Linked DNA regions of Homo sapiens: regions 1 and 2 are each linked to region 3. Evidence: promoter capture Hi-C in human tissues and cell types (Jung and others, 2019). All regions are on one chromosome and are shown on one strand. Each heading gives the region's core, a stretch centred on a gene start or on the middle of the fragment in contact. The rest is flanking DNA. Distances are from core to core; before and after follow the strand shown. Region 1 has its middle 14 kb from the start of ACVR1C. Region 2 overlaps ACVR1 (activin A receptor type 1). Region 3 holds the start of ERMN (ermin).

Region 1 (3,063 bases), core at 33-2,532, 320 kb after region 3:
AAAGTAATGGGAAGTCATTGAAGAATTTCAAGCAAGGAGATGATATAATTAGATGGAAATGTTAAAAATGTCACTCTAGCTTCTGTATGGAGAGTGGGCTGTGGCTAGGCAAGAGTGAAATCTAGGCCACTAGCTGGGAGGATTATGCAGTCATCTGGGAAAAGAAAAAAGATGTTAACAGAAACCAGTATAAGCAGGGGTGATGGAGAAAATAGAATTATGTTAAGGGAGGAGGAGGAGGTAGGAATCGAGTAGAATGATTCAAGGTATCCCCCAGGATTCTAATGTCTGCACTAGGTGGACAAAGATGCCATTCACTCAAGAGGGAACTCTGAGAAGGGTCAGGTTGGATGTGTACAAACTCCTTTTCCGACCTTAAGTTTGAAATGGCTGTAGATGCCAAGTAGAGCTAAGTCAGTAGGTAGCTATATAGATCTAGGGCTTAGAGGATTGGATGTGGCTGGAAGTAAAAATTTGAGAGTTCTCTTATACAGAAGGTAATTAAAGCCAAGCTTATGGGTAAGATTTTCTGGATACATGTTTTTAGACTAGACATTCAATGAAACTGTCTTGAAGTGCTCCCTGATTTTTCGTAGTCTTCTAGCAAAGCTCACAATTGGTTCAACCTGACTTAAAACATTACCAAGACTCTTGCTATGGCACCATGGTTTAGACTCTTAACCAATTACTTATGGTAACTGCGTAACACAATTTAAAATTCTTTCCTAAGAAAAATGTTGACTCTATGTGTAGATACCACTGTATTGGCCAACACCTGTGCCAGTGTGTTGATTTTTTCACTGAGATAGACTTCAATTTCATGTACTCAAGGGTACACAACTGAAAGGGAAGTCCGTCCCTTTAATGCTGGAGTTTAAAGCATATGACTTTCATTCTATTCACAACACAAAATAGCTACAATACAGCTATTTCCTAGAAAATCCAATCATGAAAGAAATAAATCTATTTTTCCTTGAGAAAAGTATTTGTCCGGGAGGAGGGAAGCAAGATACGTTCCTCTATTAGTTAAATAATCAGCAAGAAAAGTAGCGGTGATTGAAGATATTATTTTAGTCTGTTATATTGTCCTAACTGGGGATTGTTTCCTTGCGTCATTGAAGGTTAAGGTATTAAAGAACAAATTTCTGCAAATTTGAAAAGCTCTGCCTCTTTTGAAGCATGGCATGGTAGAAGAGAAAGATGGAGAAAAAGTTAAATTTTTAATTGTATTTCTGTTTGTTCCACAAAGCATTTGAGATGCTTTATAAGAATACATGGAATAAAATATAAGTATGTATATTCAGAAAAAGGAAAATACAAATTGGAGTAGATGGTTATGACTGAGGGGGAAGTGAAAATGCAACATGTAGGCCAAAGACTCCTACATAGGTACTAAAGTTGGATTGCAGATTTGAGTCTGAAATTTTGGCTTTTGAGTAAAGAGAAACACCATTGTATTCTTTATTATGCATAAGGATTTTTTTTCTCCTAAACACAATTTATTACTTGGAATTTTGTTTTGAAGACACTGAAAGATACGGTAAGAAACATACTCAAAAATGTTCCTGAAGTAAATACAGTAGTATATTTTGTATACCTTTTTCTGGAGAGTTTCTTAATTCCAGACTTAAACTTGATTCCATAACAACTTAATAATAGCAATTCTGTGAGGTGAGAGGAGTGGAAGGAAGAGACTCAGTGTGACCCAATGATGTGACTGTGTAAACGACTAACTTAATTCTGAGCTAAACCCCAGAAGAGCTAGATGACTGATTCTTTGCTGTTTTAAATGAGATCTTCTAAGGGAATCCGATGAAAGCTATGGACCCCCAAAAACACACTCATACACACATATAGAACATAGCATATAAATGCAGATGATTCACAAATCCCTTAAAGCCCAGGTTGAAACATGTGATGTCAAGTGTCTATAAAAAGTAATTTAGAAGTAGCATAAGGGAGTACTTGAGAGTATATGCTAGGCATCAAACAGATCTCAGTCTGATTTTGGGTTTTGCCACTTGCTAGCAGTAGAGCAAGCTACTTAACTTCTCTAAGCCTCAGTTTTCTCATCCTTAAAATGAGGGTCAATAATATTGTTTATCTCATAGGGTAGAAGTGAGGATTCAATGAGATAATGCATATGAAGGGCTTTGCATAATGTCTTTAACACAGTAAGGACTTAATAGTAGCTATTAGTTACTGTCAGCTTTATGAATTCATAATTAATTGAAGCTATTGTTACTGGCTATTAGTTATGCAGTTTCCATTTCCCTACATGACCAAGAACATTAGAGAAGGGGTGATCAATTCACAAAACACTGTGCATATATGTATATGTAAATATAAACTACTTCTCTAGGAAGAATATGTATAATCTCTTTCTGATTTTCAATGAGGCCCCATGATTAAAAAATGTAAAGACACAGTGAAAAGAGGCAAACATAAGTTGGCTCTGTTCTTCGTGAAGGTACTGACTCATAGCCACTGTTCCCCAGTCTCAATTTAGAGAGAACACTCATGTGCTCAGGGCACGCATATATCTTCTATGTGGTTCCCCTAAGAAATAATAGTGGCTTCACTGGCTGTTAATGGCCCTAAGCGTTTATTGTTCTGATTCCATTTCTGGACACTCTGTTGTTGATTTTAATGCTCCTTACTCACCCCTTATGTCCTTGGTTGAGTCAAAGATTTGTTAATATTAGAAATGATAGAAAATCTCCCAGGTAAGTTACTGAGCCATGCAAAATTACTTTAAAATCCCTCCAAAATTGCCAGTAGTCACCAATGCGTCCTCTGTTCTTGTCTGCTGTCTCTCCTTTCCTATTCCCTGAGTTATTTTTCCCCACACCTTTATTGACCTTATTTTGGCCTAACCCTGACTCCCCATTTTTGTCCTTTTTAAAGCTGGCATTTGCAATAAGAATATTCTTTTTTGTTGTAGTTCAGCAGACAACCAGAGTAAATCTTCAAATCTTTACTCTTCTTTACAGTGTTCATTGCATCATAAAGATTCTATTTGGTTTGTTATTGAACATACAGCATGGTTTCTTTTACTCTTTT
Region 2 (2,966 bases), core at 110-2,609, 460 kb after region 3:
AGCACAGAGTGAACAAAGTAACTTCCAGACTACAGTAGTCCCCACTTATCCCCCCTTATGCACCGTTTCACTTTCCACTATTTCGGTTACCTACCATCAACCACAGTCCAAAAATATTAAGCAAAAAATTCCAGAAATGAACATTTCCTAAGTTCTAAGTTATATGCTGTTTGAGTAGCATGATGGAATCTCACGTTGTCCAGCTCCATCCTGCCCAGGACATGAATCATCCATTTGTCCAGCGTACCCACACTGTAGATGCTACCATCCTGCTAGTCACTGAGCAGATGTCTTGGTTACCAGATCCACTGCCATGGTATTGCAGGTGCGTTCAAGGAACCCTTCCTTTACTTAATAACTGCCCCAAAGCACAAGAGTGGTGATGCCAGCCTATTGTTATAATTGTTCTATTTTACTTTGCTATTGTTGTTAATCTCTTCCTGTGCCTAATTTATAAATTAAACTTTATCCTAGACATAGGAAAAGATGTAGTATAGATAAGGTTCAATACTATCTGTGGTTTCAGGCATCCACCGGGGGTCTTGGAATGTATTCCCCATGGATAAATAGGGGGTTACTGTATTTACTTTCCATCCTAGATGAAGCCAAAGCGATTTTAAAATAACAGTCAAAAGGGTAAAAACTTGGGGCAGAGTCCAAGCCTCTGATAATGCTACTTCCCTATCCTCCAATTTCCCCATTCATTTCCCAAGGCCCTACCAAGTCCAGAACTCCATGAAAGGTTAATGAAGAAAGGAATCCCATGTCTTCAACCCCAGGAAGATGTGCCTGTGCCTCTGTATCCCAGCCTTTATAACTTGATCTTTGCTTTACATATCTTCTTTCCCCTATCAGTCTAATTAATATAGTCCAAAACAATTCATTAATTCTCAGGTTTAACATATTGAACAAGATTGGCTTATCAGTCACAGAATAAAGATCTTACAGTCACAATGAGACAGTTAAATTTGAGTCATTTTGAGCTTGTCCTTTTTTACCCCTGGGCCCACAGAAAGGCTCCAGGTGCCTACACTCCAGGTAGAAACAGAAAGCATCTCATTTGAGTGCTGTGAAGCTGAACTGGCTTTTCAAACACACAATCCCTCCCCTTCAATCTGTGCCATGGCAAACCATTCCCAGTTTCCACAATAATCTTGGACTTTGGCAGAAGAAAGCCAGCTAAATCTGAGATGTGTCACGAGGCCACTGGCTGGGGAGCAAGAATATCTAAACACAAATCCAGGCGAGAGCAACAAACAAGAGTTTCCGCAGATTCCCTCTGGCTCCTGTAGCTGCAGATCACTGACAGCCTAAAGATAACCCAAGTATCTACAAAGGGTCACTTTTAAATAGTAGCTTTAATGCCACCAGTCATTTCAGAAGCATTTCCTTCCAGAGCCTGCTTCCATCCACACTGGCCACCAAGTCTGTCCAACAATGGCAAGCTTACTGAGGAGATTAAAGTCCAGAAGGAAATGGAAGAAATCCCAAAAGGGAACAGACAGCTCCTGACATGCTGGGATTCTATTCTGTGATTGTACTTGTGCCAATATTTGGACTACTGAGAAATAATAATCTAGCAAAGAGACACCTTGTAGAAATGACTAACAATCACTAGGGATTAAAGAGCAGGTATAAAATGAAACAAAATAGTTTAACTCCAAAACTTTCTAAAGCTGAGGCTGTATAAACCATGGATGGCTACCACTAGGAGACTTTTAGGAAAGCCTTTCTCTCAAAGAGAAAACTTACTTAGTTTACTGAACTGCTGTAAGGAGAACAATATGAAGTCTTCAGGCACATACTGTACATACGTAGCCAGTGTGGCCACCCACTAACCACAGAAGCACCAAATGGAACTGCTCAGAAGCCTGCTGCTTTTTTTTTCTTCCTTTTAAGTAGGGCCAAAGTTCCCAAGATCTTCCTCAGACCATTAAAATCTGCTCAGCACCTCACCTGTCTACTAAGTAAGTCCACATTGTCCTAAATGGCAGTCGGCCAGGGGCTGGTGTACAAGGGACAGGTGCTCAGTGGGCTTTTTTCAGTTGCTGTCAGCTCAGTCAGGAGCTGCACATGCTCAGTAGGCAGGCAAGTTTTGGTTCCGTTTCGAACTCTGGGCAGCCAAGAGACATACACCTTCACAGCTGCCAGGGCAACCAGCTGCCCAGTGCTCCTCCCAAGATGGGAGCAATGAAAACAGTGTAACCTGGCCAGCCAACATGCCAGTGAGCAAGCTGTACCTCTCATTTCACTGCCTGGGTTATTCTGAGCTGGGCTTATTGACACTCCATGGCAACACAGGAACAAAGGGCCAGCTAGAGGGATTTAAATGTCCTGCAAAAGTTGTTAGAAAAGTCAGCAGCTCTGGCTTCTGCTTTCATAATAAAACTAGCAATAGCATTATTATTAGATTATTGTTGTTTTGTCACTGTTAATATCATTTGTGAGCCACCTGTAACAGTTCTACGTTCGCACTAAGGCTTTGTTTTTGTTTTGTTTGCCACCATTTAGTTGCTACAGTTGGGATGCCTTTGAAAATGGAGTATGTGTGCCTGCCTGTCCCTAAACTGCAGGAGGATTAGTTTTTCCCATCCCTTTACTTCTCATCTTGCCACACTCTATGATCCACTTTCACCACACACCACTCTTTCAAAACACAAACTGCACCTACTTAATCTCTCCACAGTTCTCCATTGCCTTCAGGATAGAAGACAAACACCTTAGCATAAGGCTCTGCCATGCCTGCAGGGCTCAACTCTCAACCTTAATTCCGTCTCATGACATGGTGACCGCTCATGATCTCATGATCTCACGTCTCTGGACTTCACCCTTCCCCTGCCTGCAATGTCCTTCTTAGTCCCTCCTCGGCTGGTCTAATGGCTACTTATCCTTCAAAACTTAGCTTCCCTGCATCACCAGCCCCAAACCCAGCTCCATGTGGAATGCAGGCCTTTCCTGTCCATACG
Region 3 (3,228 bases), core at 264-2,763:
TTAGGAAAGACCCGTTTTTGAAACATTTACCTTTCACAAGGTGCACACACAGATTTGGACACACCAAATCAAAAAGTAGGGTTGACTCAGTGGACTAACTTAAGAGATAGACATCACGTTGGTATGCCAATCAGCTATGCCATTCCATGCAGCCTCAGCCTTGAACAGTCTGGAATGCTTTATAAGGTGGAACCCACAGATAAGTTAAGACTCTCTTATCTGCCTACAGCAGCTTTGAAAATTTGAAGTCATTGCCTGGATTGCTTTGTCAACCCCACGCTCATGCAACATTTCATGGAAAGACTGTCATCCATACTCAGTCAAACAATTTCTGTGTACAAAACTGTAGTTCTTGTTACCTTCTCTGAATGTCATTTCATCAGCACTAGTTTCTTGGAGAGAAAGATCTGTGATAGCCTTATGAACAATAAAGAGTTTCTCTTCTGGGTTTTCTAGGAAAAAAATATAAAATCAGTATTTTAACATTTAAAATATTTATTGTTCAACAGTTAATAAGTTATCAATTTAAACTCTAGGTAGAAGTCTTTAATTTTAAATCTGATCATTAAAATTTACTATTTCACTCTTTGGATTCATTCTTTATCAATTCAATTTATTTACTTAATGATCACTTTATTGATTGTAATCTCTCCTTTAATATTTATATAAGATATATATATAAGATATAGAACCATAAATTCAGAGAACTTCAGTTATATTTAGAAGGAAATTTTAACATTTTGAATTCTCTTTGTTCAAATAATATGGGGCTGTCCATAATCATAATAAATACAGTAGTTAACATTTAGCCAATACTTACCCTAGACTTGTAGTTATTATTATTATTCCGCCTTCTTCTAGTGAAAAAAACTCAGGCTTCGGGAGACAGAAAGTTGTCTGGGGTCACAGCTGTCAAATAGACCAGCCTGGATTTCACCAGAGGCAGAGGTTTAGTCCTTATACTATGCGTAGTAGAATAAAGGGCTACATTTTTGGGGTGTCCAGCTCATTTCGATAATAGTTTATCAAAAAAATCCAGGGTAAATTTATAAGTCAAAACAAGAAAATTAAGGAGAAGGGAAACACTTTACCTTTTAGCATTTTGTCCTCCATGGATGAGTTGAGCAGCATGTTCCCTTGTAATTTTCTTCTTTCCTCCTGACTTCCTTTGGTGAGTGCACCTTCCAGACTGGGTTCTACCCTGTAGTGTGGCAGGGGGCTGTCCACATCAGTCAATTCCTCACTGATTTTAGTGATTGTTTGTTGACCGTTTTCAGGTGGTTTATCCCCATTACACTCAGCCTGGGTAAATGTAGCCGGAACATCTGTCATGATGTGCGGTTGAATCCGATCTGGAGAGAGAGCTTTAGGGAAACTGAGTGAGTAGATCCTTGATAAGATACCTGCTCTTGCCTTCAAGTCCTATAGTTCCAACTCCTACTCTAAGAGCACAAATTATTCACTTTAGTACATAATAACAAGGTTCTTTTCCTAAAAGTATCCAGACAGAGATTAGAGCAAAAGCAAGAGGATTTGTCAGATCTGCCAGGAGCCATGAGCAAGAATCCAGCCAATCACCACCTTCTTTGTTGCTTGCCAGTTCCCTGGCAGAGTTAAAGGCATCCTTTTGATTTACATAAACAAACAATCTGAAGCAATCAGGCTTTTGTGTTGGCATGTAGAGAGGGACTTTCAGCTTGTCAGTCCCCCTCTGGGAACAGAGATTTTTGTCCCTTTTCATAATGGCCCATTGTAATTTTCCCTGTAACAGGAGCCACAATTGTCCCACAGCTTTAATCCAGAGAGAATGACCACCTTGAGGCATATTAGTTCTGTGTAACCAGCTTAACATTTCCAAACAGATTTTGTTCAAGTAAAACCTCAGCTATTTTGTAAAGGACAATGGCATTGTTTCTTATTTATTAAAAAATAAAACAGCTTATGGAAAAAACCTATAAACAGGACAACTTTACTGTAAATGGTTCTGGCTGCAGATTTGATGGTGTGCTTCCAGCAGGCTGGAGAAGGGACCTATGAAATAAACAAATTCTACCAACTTGCTAATACCAAAAGTTTTATAATTTCAGAGTAATTTACTTAGTCTATAGCTTCTTATCCTCTAGTTTATGTCTGCTGAAGCCCAGCCGATCCTTTAAAACCCTAATAAAATTATCGCCATGAAGGTTTCTCCTCCCCCAATCAGAATTACAATCCTTTCTATTCCATACTGATATTACACAATGCTGGTAAAATGTAGAGGACCAATGCAATCTGCCCTTGGGAGAAACAGGTGATTATGTTAAATGACTGCTACTGACCACCCCTTCCTTTTTAAATCTTTTTCTTTTTTGGATTTCTCATAGTACAAAATGGTTCCAGAGCCTTTGCCCACACAGCTCCTTCTATGTGAAATGCCCTTCTCTTCCTCAAGCCCAAGCCCTGGGCTGACCAGCTTCCCTAAGTTCTGTTTTTAAGCTTAAATATCATCTCCTTAACTACACTATCTCTAACCGCCAGGATTAGGACAGGACTCTGTTACACATTGTCTTTGCCCTTCAGAGTATTCTTCATGGTTGTAACTAAATAAGCAACTGCACAATTATCTCTGTAATGTCTGTTTCACCAACTGCAAACTAAGTTTCATCTGGCGAGGGGCCAGTTTAACTTGCTTACATGTGTCCCCAGCACTTAGCATCTGGCTTGGAATAGTAGCACGCAATAAAAATAATTATATATATACACATATATACACAAATAATTATATATATACACATACATAACAAGAATTATATTATATATATAATATATACAATAAATTTTATCCCCAAGAGAATAAATTTCAGATCATTTTTAAAGAGAAGAAGAATAGGTGTTGAAGAGTTGTAGTAAGCATATCACCTTTAAAAGTGTGTCTAGGGCTGAGCCCATTCAGGTCTATATCAGGGACAACACCTCACTCTTGTATAATCCCCTCTCCCTTGTCCTTGGAAGACATCTCTAATAGATCCTAGATCTCCCTCCCGCGTCATCACCAGCTGTTCTCTAGTCAGCACTCTAATTCTATGTTTGTTTGATTGTTTAACTGTTTTAACAAACGCTCATATCACACTTATTATGTGCAAGCTACTGTCCTAATTGACTCATAAATAGTAATACACTTACTCTTCATAACAGTCTTCTGAGGTAGGTGCTGTTGTTATCTCCATTTTATAGACTAGAAAAATGAAG

The links. Contacts are between HindIII fragments. The study calls those that stand out against the background at their distance.
Region 1: a contact is called between a fragment that was not itself captured here and the fragment with the promoter of ERMN in region 3, in 1 of the 25 tissues and cell types used here (lymphoblastoid cells).
Region 2: a contact is called between a fragment that was not itself captured here and the fragment with the promoter of ERMN in region 3, in 1 of the 25 tissues and cell types used here (spleen).

Annotation. Positions count from the first base shown.
Region 1 is chr2:157,640,955-157,644,017 of GRCh38, forward strand. No RefSeq gene overlaps it. Among named protein-coding and RNA genes, the nearest start is that of ACVR1C, 14 kb to the left of the region's middle. The HindIII fragment of the contact is 4,510 bases long and covers 1-3,063 here.
Region 2 is chr2:157,788,176-157,791,141 of GRCh38, forward strand. The region is part of intron 3 of ACVR1 (activin A receptor type 1); the gene reads right to left. Among named protein-coding and RNA genes, the nearest start is that of ACVR1, 87 kb to the right of the region's middle. The HindIII fragment of the contact is 5,724 bases long and covers 1-2,966 here.
Region 3 is chr2:157,324,311-157,327,538 of GRCh38, forward strand. ERMN (ermin) reads right to left here and starts at 1,514. Exons shown (of 3, transcript NM_020711.3): 1 at 1,092-1,514; 2 at 360-452. The coding sequence starts at 1,332. RefSeq lists an enhancer at 1,398-1,947. The HindIII fragment of the contact is 5,881 bases long and covers 1-3,228 here.